3 separate regions of the Homo sapiens genome follow, and regions 2 and 3 are each linked to region 1. Evidence: promoter capture Hi-C in 16 types of primary human blood cells and fetal thymus (Javierre and others, 2016). All regions are on one chromosome and are shown on one strand. The core of a region is centred on a gene start or on the middle of the fragment in contact, and the rest is flanking DNA. Distances in the headings are between cores, read along the strand shown.

Region 1 (4,610 bases), core at 1,111-3,610:
AAGCAATACGTCTTGGCATCAAAGGGCTGGTTCTGAGCCTCGATCCTCTCCTTTTCTGACTTCCGGAGGAAAGGAGCAGCTATGCCGAACACTTCCATTTCAGTGTCACTACTCATGGTGTCAGCTGGAAGGCAAACCCACCCGGTGAGCTCAGCAGCCCCCTTGCCAGGCACCCAGCAGCTCCAGGCCTGTTTCAGCCTCCACCCTGCCCTCCTTCAGCCGCAGGAGCCCTCAGAGTCAGGGCCCCAGGAACCAGGCTGTCCTCATGCCTTGAGAAGCTCCACCCAAAGGGCTTCAGTGCTGGGAAATCACACGGGTGCATATTTATTGAGGGGCTTCTTGTGCGACAGTCTTACAGCCTATTTAACCCAAGCTCCTCAAGCATCTGAGGCTTGAACTGGCGATAAGGGGTTTGGAAGTGAGCACCACTCTTGGGACCGCCTTTTCCGCTTCTGTGACAACCAGGTGTTGCTGAGGGAACGTTTAAAAATAAACACCCTTAAAAAATAAACGCCATCTTCAAAGAGAGTGTGCTAATGGCAAACAGCAAAGATATTTTTGAACCATTTCAATCAAGGTGGCTACACGCTCGTATGCGGGAACCTGCCTTTTGCTTCCTTGGGTTGCTAAGAACAAAATCAAGCATCTGACATCAGCATCTGTTTGACAGTCCCCCAAATGCCACCTCCTCTCCCGCCTGACCTGTCCTTGCCTTTTTTTTTTGAGATGGAGTCTCACTCTGTCACAGACTGGAGTGCAGTGGCACGATCTCCACTAACTGCAACTTCTGCCTCCCAGGTTCAAGCGATACTCCTGCCTCAGTCTCTTGAGTAGCTGGGATTACAGGCACTTGCCACCACGTCCTGCTAATTTTTCTATTTTTAGTAGAGACGGGGTTTCACCATGTTGGTCAGGCTGGTCTTGAACTCCTGACCTCATGATCTGCCCACCTCGGCCTCTCAAAGTGCTGGGATTACAGGTGTGAGCCATTGCACCCGGCCACGACCTGTCCTTGTCTAAATGTGCTAGTTCCCCTGTCCCTCTGTGCCCTTATGGCCGGTGGGAGGAGGGAGAAAGGAACTGGCAAGCTTGGATTGCCTGGAGATCTCCAACAGCCGAGGGACAGGGCCCAACTTCTCACCTGAGAGTCCCACCTGCAGGATGAGAGCAGAAGACAGCAACAGCCAGGAGATCCCAGACCTGGAAGAATATGCACATACACAACTTAGCGGCACTTGGGGTGGCTGCGTCCATGTAGAATCGGCTTCTGACGAGTTAACTAAAAAGGATAAAGGGGCCAGGCGCCATGGCTCACGCCTGTAATCCCAGCACTTTGGGAAGCCGAGGCGGAAAGATGGCCTGAGGTCAGGAGTTTGAGACCAGTCTGGCCAACATAGTGAAACCCCTTCTCTACTAAAAATAAAAAATAAATTTAAAAAATTGCTGGGCGTGGCGGCAGATGCCTGTGATCCCAGCTACTCTGGAGGCTTAGGCAGGAGAATCATTTGAACCTGGGAGACAGAGGTTGCAGTGAGCCGAGATTGTGCCATTGCACTCCAGCCTGGGCGACAAGAGCAAAATTCTGTCTCAAAAAAAAAAAAAAAAAAAAAAAAGACTAATACTTTAAAGAGGCAGGCTGGAAGATGGAAGAGCAGATGGGACGTGACCCACAGGAAGCCAGGCAGGGAGGAAAAACCCTCAGCTGTGCAGAAATCTGGTTTCTCTCAGCCTGCACTGGCACCTTCTTCAGTCTTCCTCACTCCCATTTAGAATCGGACAGCAGGGACCGCATCCCTGCTTAAAGTCAACAGTTCGAGGGCAGGGGCAGGTCTCCTTGTCTGTGAACAGGCAATATCTCTGAGATTAATTTACACGCAATGCCCACAGCCAGTGTGGTCTTGAGAGGACAAGACACCTGGCAGATGTACAGCCCAGGTGGGGAAGGTGAGGGCAGAGTGAGGTCCCCAGTCCTGTTGACCCTTCATGGGTCACAGAGGCAATGGGAGAAGGTCAAGCCATGGCAGCTGGGCTCACGGGGCATCCAAAAGGATCCTGCCCAAGAGGACACTTGGAGAGGAGGACAGGGGAGAGTGTGTGGAGGAGAGAGAACCTGCAGGGCTCCTGCTTGGGGGAGGTGCTGGAGCCAGAGGGTGCTGGGTGTTTGGGCCCAGGGAACCTCGCTCTCTACACCTTGCTTATCCTAAGAAAACTCAGAAAGGCATGAGGCGCCACCTCAGCAGAGCCAGGCAGGGCCAGGGAACCACGCACGGGGTGTGGATGTGCTCACCGGGTGGGTGTGCTCCAAGCAGCTGAGACCTAGAAGAGGAGCCTGTGACTTACCTCCGCCCACAAGCGAGCCACAGAGGGCTGGCTGCTCCCCGGGGCTTTTATAGGCCATTGGTAACCCCCGCGGCTCATTCCTTCTCTATATTTGGCAAGAGGATGAGTGGCCCCCCCAAGCCGAGAACCAGCTTCTTCCACACGTATCTTTGTCGTTGCCAAGGGAAAGGTATAATTAGAAATGAGCAGGATCCATCACCATTTTCCGACCGCAGAATGTCAGGAGCTTGGGATGCCTTTCTCTGAACTTGGGGCCGGTGCTCCCTCCCCTGATGGGATGGGATGGCCTCACTCCAGGAGGAGTTGCGGGGGCAGCCACCTCCGTTCTCAGGCGCTCATCACACCCTGAACGCGGCGTGAGCCCCTAGCTATTGGGCACCAAGGACTGAAGTCGGGTGGCTTACTTAGAAATCTCATCATATGGAAAAGTGAATAAGACTGAGAGTGAAAAGTTGAAATCCTTTTTGAATTTTGAGCAAGATTTTATCACAACCTTGGGTTGTGATTGCAAAACCTGTGCCAGGAATAATTAATAATAATAATAATTAATAGCAATAATTCCCCTCCCCCCTTGCCCTCTTCTCCCTTCTCCTCCTTCTACTCCTCTCCTTCTTTCTCTTATTTTCTCCTATGCAACGTTCTGTCTCATTAGTATCATTATTAACTTAATTCTTTCTTAAGCTCTAATAGGACCAGCCAGTTAAGTTAGTGACGTGGATCTATGCTGCCAGCTCGTATTCCCGGCGACAGCTGCCTGAGGACCTGTGGCTATTAAGACAGATTACCAATTAGGAAAGACCAGCTGCTGGCTGGGATGGGGTAGGGGGAACGGTGGTGGCCTGCAGAGAAAGGGCGGACAAGGGGGGGCTGTCTAACAAATGTGGTCATCTCTAAATCAGGAGTGGAAAAATAAAGCCTCAAGAGAAGAGTAAAGTATGTCGGACGCTTTTGCCCATTCTCGTTCTACTTTTTTTTTCTTGACAAATCTTTGGGAGGATGGCTGGGTGGGCACCCTGTGGTTGCTTATTCCAAATAGAACTGTTTGTCCATGTTTCCCATAGAAACCGCCCCTTCCGTACACAGCAGTACCAAGCCCCGAAGTGGAGGCCACTCCATGAGGTCTGCGTGGGACCGGGGAGGCAGGGCTGCGGTCTCAGGGCAAAGGCACGTGTATGAAACATCCTCTGTGCTCTGGCCCTTACACACAGTGCTTCGAGAAGACGCAGAGGAAACAGAAGACGCAGCCTTTACCCTTAAGGGTTTGAATTCTAGATGATGAGTCCTGTGGATGCTACAGACGCATTTACAAAATTGAGGTGATTTCACATTGAAGCAACAAGTTTATGAAGCGCCTGTTCCGTGAATGCCAGGCAAGGCCAGTGGCCGCCAATGGAGTCAGTTGGGCAGGGCTCACTCACCCCTTGCCTGTCCACCAGCCACTGAGCGTTGCCCCCACCCACTGCCCCTCTCCCTCCAGGTGAGACTGACATGTCCATCCTTGGAGCCCCTCCTCATCCAAGGAGAGGGTAACCGTCACTCCTAAAGTGTCCGTCCATGTCGTAAAGGGAGTGGTCCCCTGGGGCTCTGCCCTGTTGGCCCAGTGATGCACTGTCTCCTTGGGAGTATTGGTCAGGACAGCCACGGACAGGTAAATATCACCGAGGGGAGCAGCGGTGTTAACAAGGTCCGTGGGGTCAGGGGACAGGGCAAGCTGTCCTGGCTACATCTCCAGCAGTGGTGTATGCAGGGCAGGCTGTGGGTGTGGCGGGGGTGGACGTGGGAACTTGCAGTTCCTACGTCAACACCCAGACCTGTTGACAGGAGGAACTGTGTGGAAATGAAATAGGGGGCAATTTTGCTTTTTCCCTTTTGCAGTGACCAATGTACTCATCTATCTATATAACTACATCCATACTCACCTCCAGGAGACAGAAAAGAAATATTCCCTTCAACATTTCTTTTAGTTCCCTTAAGAGAGCACCCATATCACGTTAGGACCTAATACAAGCTCTAAAATGCTGATGGCTTCTCGCCTGGCTTTCCACACTGTCCTTGTTTCCTTCCTTCTCTTCATCAGAATTCTTCATCTTCAGCAAACAAATATAAGTGAATCTAGGAGAAAACGTCACAGACTCCTAGAGTGTTCAGCTGTGAGATCTTGGCAGTTTCTTTTAGTCTGGATCATTCCTCCTATCTTACGTATTTATTTTTCAGTAATATAGACATCACTGGACACTTTTTATGTGTCAGGCACAGAACCCAGAACTTCC
Region 2 (4,610 bases), core at 632-3,131, 210 kb after region 1:
AGGGGTAATGTGAAGATCAGAAAGGGCAATTACAGAGTACCAGCCACTACTTTTAATAAGAGAAAACAATCATTATTTTCTGTAGATCTGAGCATCACCAAACGCCTTACATTGTTGTAAGGATTGCATTTTCTGAACACTAATGAAAACCCTAAATAAAGTTGTTATTAATAATACTGATAATCAGAACTTGAAGCCCGCAGTGAAGTGCTCCTTCTCTCAACAACTGGACAATCATTCTCTTCCTTTGGGAGTTAAAGTGAAACATGCAAAGTCACCAGAAATATGTAGAATAGTTCTCAGACCAGCACCATTTAAATGTAACTTGGTTGAATATATTTACATATTAAAAAAAAGTATGTCAATCAGAGAATTAAGGGACAGGAAAAGCAGTCACAGAGGCAAACAGGCTTGACTTGGCCTGTGCAGAAAGGAGGGAGGAGGGCAGTTCAGCCAGCAGAAGTGATGGCTTTCTGTTTCTGAGGCCAGCCCTAGGATGCAGAGATGTTCTGATGATGCCAGTAATTTCCTCTCTGCTCTCTGACACCATCTTAAAGGGCCTGCCTAAGCCACAGCACCCAATGAGACAGATTTTTATAGCAAAAGCCCCAGCTCCTGGCTCCTCCATCCTGACCATAACTGATAGAGTTAAGAGTGAACATCAGACTAGAGCTGAGCTTATCAGTTTCAATGTGTTCAGACCTTTCCATCAGGGATGGGAAGACTGACACAGTTGGTTGTGGGGGGAACAAGGCTGGAATGTTGGGACATCATGGAACAGAAGCCATCATCTTGGGATGGCCTTGTTGAAGCCTTGTACACACAGAGATGTAAGCAAAGTCATGTCTGCAAGAAGAGAACAATAAATAAGATATTTATAGAAAAGAAGAGATAAGAGTAGGAGAGGAGAGAGAGTGAGAGAGAAAAGAAGGAAGAGAGCGAGAATGCCATCTACTAAATTTCTGGTTCCACGAAGCTTCGCTCTGCTTCTAAATAGCTTTCATTTTTCACGTGAGCCTTGATGAGTAGAGCTATGTTCCACACAACCAAACCATTTCTAACTAAGATGGGGTTTTAGGTGACAGCCTCAATTATTTCAAGTTTTCCTGGCAAGATCTTCCCAGCATGAGTGAAATGGATGGATCATGCTGCGTCAGCCAGGCATGGTCAGGCTGGGACTCAAACCGTGTCTTCTTCTTAGATTCGTGGCCTACCACTATGAAAGCTGGGACCTTGTTGTATAATAATGTGGCTTCCACACATGGGTGGCATAAAACAATGTCAATTTATTATCTTGCCATTCTTCAGTTTGGAAGTTCAACATTGGTCTCACTGGGATGAAATGAAGTCATCATCAGGGCCAATTCCTTTGGTGGCTCTCAGGAAGAATCCATTTCCTTGTGCATTTACAGCTTCTGGAGGCTGCCCACATTCCTTGCCTTGTGGCCCCTTCTTCCACCTTCAAAGTGAATTATGTGGCATCTTTCTGACTCTACTTCCAGTGTCACAGCTTTCTCCAGCTCACTCTTTTTACTCCCCTGCCCCATGTGAATACACTGAGCCCACTTGGATAAATCAGGATGATTTTCTCATCTCAAGGTTATTGTTTGGTCATGTTCCCACCCACATCTCATCTTGAATTCCCATGTGTGGTGGAGGGGACCTGGTGGGAGGTAATTGAATCATGGGGTCAGATCTTTTCCATGTGTTCTCACGATAGTGAATAAGTCTCATGAGATCTGATGGTTTTACAAGGGGGATTTTCCCTGAACAAGCTCTCTCTTTGCCTGCTGCCATCCATGTAAGAGGTGACTTGCTCCTCCTTGCCTTCTGCCATGATTGTGATGCTTCCCCAGCCATGTGCAACTGTGAGTCCATTAAATCTCTTTTTCTTCCCATTCTCAGATGTGTCTTTATCAGCAGCATGAAAATGGACTAATACAGCAACCTCAATTCCCCTTTTTCATATAACCTAACAATTCACAGGGCCCAGGGATGAGGGCATGGACATTTTGGTGGGTAGGGAGCATTATTCTACCTACTCCATATGGGGAGAAAACAACAAATACCAATGTAGAGCATTCTTTAAAAATACTCATTTTGGCTTAGGAAACTTTGATGCTCAACTAGTGATCTTCTGAACCCATGCTTTAATGAAAAATAGCATGGACTTTCCACTCCTTTAGGCCTGAGTTCGATCCTACCAAGTCTATGACTTGAGTGTGTGTGTTTAACTTCTCTGTACTTCAGCTTCCTCCTCCATAAAATGCAGATAATGATGCGGAACTAGATGAAATGTTTGGGGAACTAGATGAAATCAAATATGCTTTTAAAAAAACATTATAAATGCCTTTCTTTTTTTTTTTTTTTGCTTTCCTTACTTTCCTTTTCCTTTCCTTCCAGCCTGGAACCATTAACTGAATATACCAAGAATGCTCTTGAGTGAGGACCCATGCTGTCTTGGTCATGCTATGTCTCAGCTGCAGAAGTGACCTGGTGCTAGAAATCTGAAACTAGCATTCCACCGGGATGACAATCCATAATCTCCTCATGCTCCTTCTGCCCCATATTTCAGGTCTTGTTATCTCCAGGAGCGAGAGCCATTCAAGGTCTTCTTTTTGTCTTTCTTTTCTCACAGCTTACAATGACAAGGGCCAGGAAGCCAAGGAGAGGATATTTGGGGGTTGCTAAGTAGGAGCCGCCAGGACAGTGATCTCGAGGGCCTATCTGAATGATGGGAGGTATTGAAGAATTCCCAATAGACTGCATCCAGATCATGGCTACAGCAAGCTTTTCCCCATCCCTTTGAGCAACTTATATTCCTTTTTTTGTCTTTTTTTTTTAAAGTTTTATTTTAAGTTCTGGGATACATGTGAAGAATGTGCAGGTTTGTTACATAGGCATACATACGCCATGGTGGTTTGCTGCACCTATCAACCCGTCATCTAGGCTTTAAGCCCTGCATGGATTAGGTATTTGTCCTAATGCTCCCTCTCCTCTTGTCCCCCACCCCCTGACAGGCCCTGGTGTGTGATGTTCCCCTCTCTGTGTCCATGTGTTCTCATTGTTCAACTCCCACTTCTTAGTGAGAACATGTGGTGTTTGGTTTTCTGTTCTGTGTTACTTTGCTGAGAATGATGGTTTCCAGCTTCATCCATGTCCCTACGAAGGACATGAACTCATTCTTTTTCATGGCTGCATAGTATTCCACGGTGTATATGTGACACATTTTCTTTATCCAGTCTATCACTGATGGGCATTTGGGTTGGTTCCAAGTCTTTGTTATTGTAAATGAGCAACTTACATTTCTTTAAAGTGTTGGTGAGCTCTGCACATCTGTAACCACAGCCATGGGCTTCTGATGAGAACTTCTTATTTTACTTTATGTTTGAAGGAGCTTGGCTGCCTTTGACCTCACCACCCTAGGAATTGGAATGGAATGAGTGAAGGAGTTCCTATGTTGGTTTGTGGCAGGAAGATAGTCCAGTTGGATTTAAGTGGTATCATTATGGAAATGCAACCAGTGCAGGTATCAAAGCCTTTGCAAAACATTCTAGAAGGTTACTCATGTTTTAGCTGAAAAAGCAGTCTGCTGATTATAAAATATGGCTCCTCAGCTTTCCTTTCAGTTTTAGACAGTTACCATACCTCATTGGCAGCTCACAATGCATCTTCACAGATATGAGCACTTTTCTTGGTGCACGGGTTCCTAGCAGAGTCTCAGAGTCAGACAGGCCAGTGTTGAAATTCCAGTTCTCCTGAAACTAGCAGTCACTTAATCTTTCTGAGTTTCAGTTCTCCTAACTGTAAAATGGTGGCACTAATAACTATTTCCTTGAATTGCTGTGCTTATTAAATGCCCCTAGCACGGCACCAAGCCCTCATTAAGCACTTGGAAACTTATATCCATTTCTTCTTTTTTGGGTTCTCTGCATATAATGTTTATATACATCTTAATTAAAACTGCTTCTTTCCTTAAAATATCTAATATTCACGTATAGAAGGGTATTCACAGAAAAGGATGCAGCTACCTTTCCTTCTCTGGGCACAGTAGACATTTGCCTTCCCAGATTTGGAAATGAAGGAAGCAAGATTGCCTTTTGGGGAATTAGGCACAGTGCATCACAGTACAGATATGTGAACTCAGCTGAAGGAGAAGGCACAGCTCTCAGGTAGACAAGCCCCCACAGCCACCAGATTGAATGTATTTCCATCAAGAAAGGATGTGTCCATCAGAGGAAGGACTTGTCAGCTCTGGAATAAGAAAGAAATGTGAGTACCAGAGGCAAATATCAGCAGGATCCATCCTAGGGTATTCCCCTTAACCAGTGACTGGAAGAGTTCTGGTTTTGTCAGGGCAGAGGTGGAGCCCACATATTTTAAGCGACTCTGGTCTCACTGGCAAGACCGTCCTCCTTGCGGAATGAAAACACTGAGGTATCTCAGCTGGATGCCTGAAGCACTGGATTATTGAACTTCCCCCTTTCTGACTTCAGGCTCACCAGAAACTTTCAGTCTATGATTTGGCTTCTCCTTGGAGTCTGTCTGTGGGGAGACTTTGGGCTCATTCTATGGAATCTGAGTTTTTAGGTCTCCGTGCCAGGAATTTC
Region 3 (4,610 bases), core at 1,261-3,760, 150 kb after region 1:
GTCTTTATAGCAGTATGAAAACAGACTACTGCATGGTGAAAGAGCCAGAGATGATATGTAAATGAATGAGTGTGGCTGCATTCCAATAAAACTTTGCTGTAATCCCAGCACTTTGGGAGGCTGAGGTGGGCAGATCACCTGAGGTCAGGAGTTTGAAACCAGCCTGTCCAACATGGTGAAACCTTGTCTACTAAAAATACAAAAAATAACTGGGTGTGGTTGCCCATGCCTGTAGTCCCAGCTATTCAAGAGGCTGAGGCAGGAGAATCGCTTGAACCAGGGAGGTGGAGGTTGCAATAAGCCGAGATCGCACCACTGCACTACAGCCTGGATGACAGACGGAGACTCCATCTCCAACCAAACCAAACCAAACCAAACAAAACAAAACACCTTTATTTACAAAACCAGGCAGCAGGTCAGATTTGCTGATTTCCAAACTAGACATTGTTGCCTACTGAAATTGCTCTCTTTCTCAAATAAAGACCCAAGACTCACAAAGTTTAGAGAGGTACATAAAACATAATAGCACCAACCAGTGGCTTTGTCCTGGAAGTCATAGGAAAGATTGAATGAAAATTGAAATGGCTATGCCTTTTAATGTGAGCCTGTCTGCCAACTGAAATCCCTTCCCATACTGCCAGGGATATAGTGCCAGAATCTGGAAAAATGTTGACCCTGATCAATGCTCCCCAATCAATCTTCATTTACTCCTCCTTTTTCTCAGTGTGGGACTTAGGGTCAGTATTTTCAGAAATGTATTCGCTCTTATCTTAGTGACCCCTGACAATTTTCAGAGCTCTTCATTCCTCCTCTGTTAGGCTACCCACAGGGTCTTATAAGAATTCCCCAAAGTGCGCTGCCTGGACCTCTGTAATCCATGCTCGAGGACCCTCCCTCCAGCTCAGGAAACTCTAGCCCTCTTTTCTGGTTTTCCTATCTTATTCCCTACTGGGCTGACCTAAACCTTCATGACTCCTGTCCACATCTCAAAAGCATCCTCCCATTACCACCTCCTTGCTGCTCATCACCTTCCTTCTCCGCAGGTTGGTAACCTTGCCCCCTTTCAGCAGATAATAATAGTATTTCCATGCATTTGTGTTGCACTTTATGTACAATGGACATCGATCTACATCCAGCATCTCCTTGTCCTCCCTGCAGCCCTGTTCCTCTTCCAGAGTTGAAAGCCGTTAAGAGAGTTGCCTAGGTTCAGCCAGCAAGTAGGTAACAGAGCTGCAATTAGAACCTGGTCTTGTCGTCTCATGGGCATTAAATACAAATACCAACTCTTCTCCCTTTCCTCTTCCCCACCCTTGTGTCAGTTGTTTCCCAAATCCTCAGATAATCAAGTTAGTTTCTTTCTTATTCCCATTTAATTAATTTTTTTTTTTGAGACGGAGTCTCACTCTACTGCCCAGGCCAGGCTGGAGTGCAGTAGCACGATCTTGGCTCACTGCAACCTCCGCCTCTTGGGTTCAAGAGATTCTCCTGCCTCAGCCTCCCAAGTAGCTGGGATTACAGGCACACGCCACCACACCTGGCTAATTTTTGTATTTTTAGTAGAGATAGGATTTCACCATATGGGTCAGGCTGGTCTCAAACACCCGACTTCAGTTGAGTCACCTGCCTCGGCCTCCTAAAGTGCTGAGATTAAGGCATGAGCCACTGTGCCTGGCCTTTAATTAAGTTTTTAATTAAAAATTATTTATTTTCATTGTAGAAAATGTATGTGACTAACAATTTGCTGCCTTAACCATTTTTAAGTGTACAGTTCAGTGGCATTAAGTGCATTCGCATTGTGCCACTATCGCCACCATCCACCTCCAGAACATTTTTATTGTCCTGAAATGAAGCTCTGTGCACATTACATACTAACCCCCCAGACTGCCTTCCCATAAGCCCCTGCAACCACCATTCTGCTTTCTGTCTCTGTGAGTTTGACTACTCTACCTACCTCATGTAATTGAAATCATACTATACTTGTCCTTTGGTAACTGGCTTCTTTTTCTTAGCATAGAGTCCTCAAGGTTCATCCGTGTTGTAGCATGTGTCAGAATGTTCTACCTTTTAAGGCTAAATAACGCTCCATTGCGTGTATTTACCACATTTTATGTATCCATTCACCTGTGGGTGGACACTAGGTTTGCTTCCACCTCTTGGCTATTGTGAATGATGCTGCTATAACCATGGGTATAAAAATATCCATTTGAATCCGAGCTTTTGATTCCTTTTGGTATGAGTGTATATACCCAGAAGTAGAATTGCTGGATCATATGGTAATTCTATGTTTAATTTTTTTTTTTTTGAGGCGGACTCTCGCTCTGTTTCCCAGGCTGGAGTGCACTGGTGCTATCTCGGTTCACTGCAACTTCTGCCGCCTGGGTTCAAGTGATTCTCCTGCCTCAGCCTCCTGAGTAGCTGGGATCACAGGTGTGCGCCACCAGGCCCAGCTAATTTTTGTATTTTTAGTAGAGACAGGGTTTCACCATGTTACCCAGGCTGGTCTTGAACTCCTGACCTCAGGTGATCTGCCTGCCTCGGCCTCCCAAAGTTCTGGGATTCGAGGCATGAGCCACTGTGCCCAGCCTATGTTTAATTTTTGGAGGAACCCATTCTCATGTGAGGATCCCATTCACTTTCCACAGTGGCTGCACCATTTTACAATCCCATCAGTGATCTAGGAGGGTTCTAGTCTCTTTATATCCTCACCAAAATTGGTTGTTTTCTGTTTTCTTGATAATAGTTATCTTATCCTAAAGTGAAAACTGGATTCCTATGTACTTTTATACTAGTCCTCGTTACATTGATCCAAGTAGTTTGTTTAGTTTTCTGCCCCCCTCATGAGGCTGGGCATCCCTGTCAGTACAAGCATCCCTGCCTTCTCCTTGGTAGCCCAGCACCTGGTGTTCACTGAATAGATGCATTCTTTATAATTCCTGGGACATTCCCAGTTTATTGGAAAAGCTGAGGCTGCTTCGCCAAATCTCCCCAACTCTACTCAGCTCTACTCAAAGTGCCTCTGTGTTGTTCCTCTCTTCCTTCCTCCCATTTCTGGGGAGGTAGTCTCCCAGCTACCTCCCATCAAAGCAAATTGCTTCCACGATAATACCTTGAAGTCCCATGATGCCGGGAAATCCAGCGCTTCAGTGGTCTACTGTGAATGTGGGTCCCTTCCACACCAGTTTATTTTTGCTGCCTGTTTCTGCTGACACTCAGCTCCAAGTTCATTGCTGGGCACATTGTACAAGATGTTGAGATGGAAATCCTGAGGCATCACCACCATGAGAGCAGCTGGGTTAGGCGTTAAAGCCGATATTTCTGTCACCATTTTCTGGCATCGCTGGATTGCCCCAGGAGCAATCAGGTGCAAAGCCTGCTTGCAAAGTTCCAGGGTTAAGCTGCCAGAGGTCTTGGCTGTCACCCCCTTCCTCCCGCAGCCAGGCCCAGTGCCAAGTTCCAGAGGCCCTGCCCAGGCAGCTCCACCCAGAGCTTCAGAGCTAGAGCTTCAGGCCTAACTGCCTCTCTAGCCATGACCTCCTACTGGAGCTGGGGTCCAGCACTCCTAAGCTGCCAAGATGTCTTTAAAGATGTGCAAAGCCAGGTATAAGCAAGCAAGAGGAATATGGCGCCTGCCTTCAGGGAGCCTAAAGTGGGGAGAGGCTTTGGGAGGCTGAGGCGGGCGGATCATGAGGTCAGGAGATCGAGACCATCCTGGCTAACATGGTGAAACCCCATCTCCACTCAAAAATACAAAAAATTAGCCAGACGTGGTGGGAGCCACCTGTAGTCCCAGCTACTTGGGAGGCTGAGGCAGGAGAATGGCGTGAACCCGGGAGACAGAGCTTGCAGTGAGCTGAGATCACGCCACTGCACTCCAGCCTGGGCGACAGAGCAAGTCTCCGTCTCAAAAAAAAAAAAAAATGGGGAGAGGGAGGAAGAGGAAAGACAGTGGAAAAGCAGACATGAACTAATCATGTAAATTAACATGTAAATATGACAGAGATGAGAGATCAGCAGCCAGAGGTGAAGGACCATGATCTATGAGAATGTGATAAAGAGGGCACTGACCAAGGCTTCCCTGAGGCTCTGCTGTTGGAACTGAGATTCAAAGGATGGGCAGGCGAGGCCAGGGAAAGGGGTGTGAAGAGGCTCCCAGGTAAGGCAGGAGTGTATGAAAGCACTGATGGTGGTAGATGGCCCTGCCGTGTGGCTGGGACAGAGAGGAGGAAGGGGCAAAGAATCGTGCTAACATCTTTCTTCTAGGAGTGTTGGGAAGCTGTTGGAGAGTTTTAATCAGTAGGGGATGTGATCCCTATTTTATTTTTTATTTTTTAAATTTTTTAAAAAATTTTTTATTTGGCTAGGCGCAATGGCTCATGCCTGTAATCCCAGCACTTTTGGAGGCCGAGGCGGGCAGATCAAGAGGTCAGGAGATCAAGACCAGCCTGACCAACATGGTGAAACACCGTCTCTACTAAAAATACAAAAACTAGCCAGGCGTGGTGGTGCGTGCCTGTAATCCCAGCTACTCGGGTGGCTGAGGCAGGAGAACCGCTTGAACCCGGGAGGCAGAGGTTGTGGTGAGCTGAGGTCACGCCACTGCACTCCAGCCT

Evidence for each region. The method cuts DNA at HindIII sites, captures the fragments that hold promoters and counts their contacts. A CHiCAGO score of 5 or more calls a contact.
Region 2: a fragment that was not itself captured here is called in contact with the fragment with the promoter of MYH3 in region 1 in 6 of 17 cell types (naive CD4 T cells, total CD4 T cells, naive CD8 T cells and 3 more); the score reaches 9.0 in naive CD4 T cells.
Region 3: a contact is called between a fragment that was not itself captured here and the fragment with the promoter of MYH3 in region 1, in 5 of 17 cell types (naive CD8 T cells, naive CD4 T cells, non-activated CD4 T cells and 2 more). The highest score is 7.3, in naive CD8 T cells.

Annotation. Positions count from the first base shown.
Region 1 is chr17:10,654,949-10,659,558 of GRCh38, forward strand. It overlaps MYH3 (myosin heavy chain 3), which reads right to left and starts at 2,361. Exons shown (of 41, transcript NM_002470.4): 1 at 2,341-2,361; 2 at 1,142-1,200; 3 at 1-124. The coding sequence starts at 116. The HindIII fragment of the contact is 3,770 bases long and covers 1,087-4,610 here.
Region 2 is chr17:10,865,747-10,870,356 of GRCh38, forward strand. No RefSeq gene overlaps it. Among named protein-coding and RNA genes, the nearest start is that of PIRT, 30 kb to the left of the region's middle. The HindIII fragment of the contact is 1,814 bases long and covers 975-2,788 here.
Region 3 is chr17:10,809,426-10,814,035 of GRCh38, forward strand. All of the region lies in intron 3 of TMEM220-AS1 (TMEM220 antisense RNA 1), which reads left to right. Among named protein-coding and RNA genes, the nearest start is that of TMEM238L, 7.6 kb to the left of the region's middle. The HindIII fragment of the contact is 6,764 bases long and covers 1-4,610 here.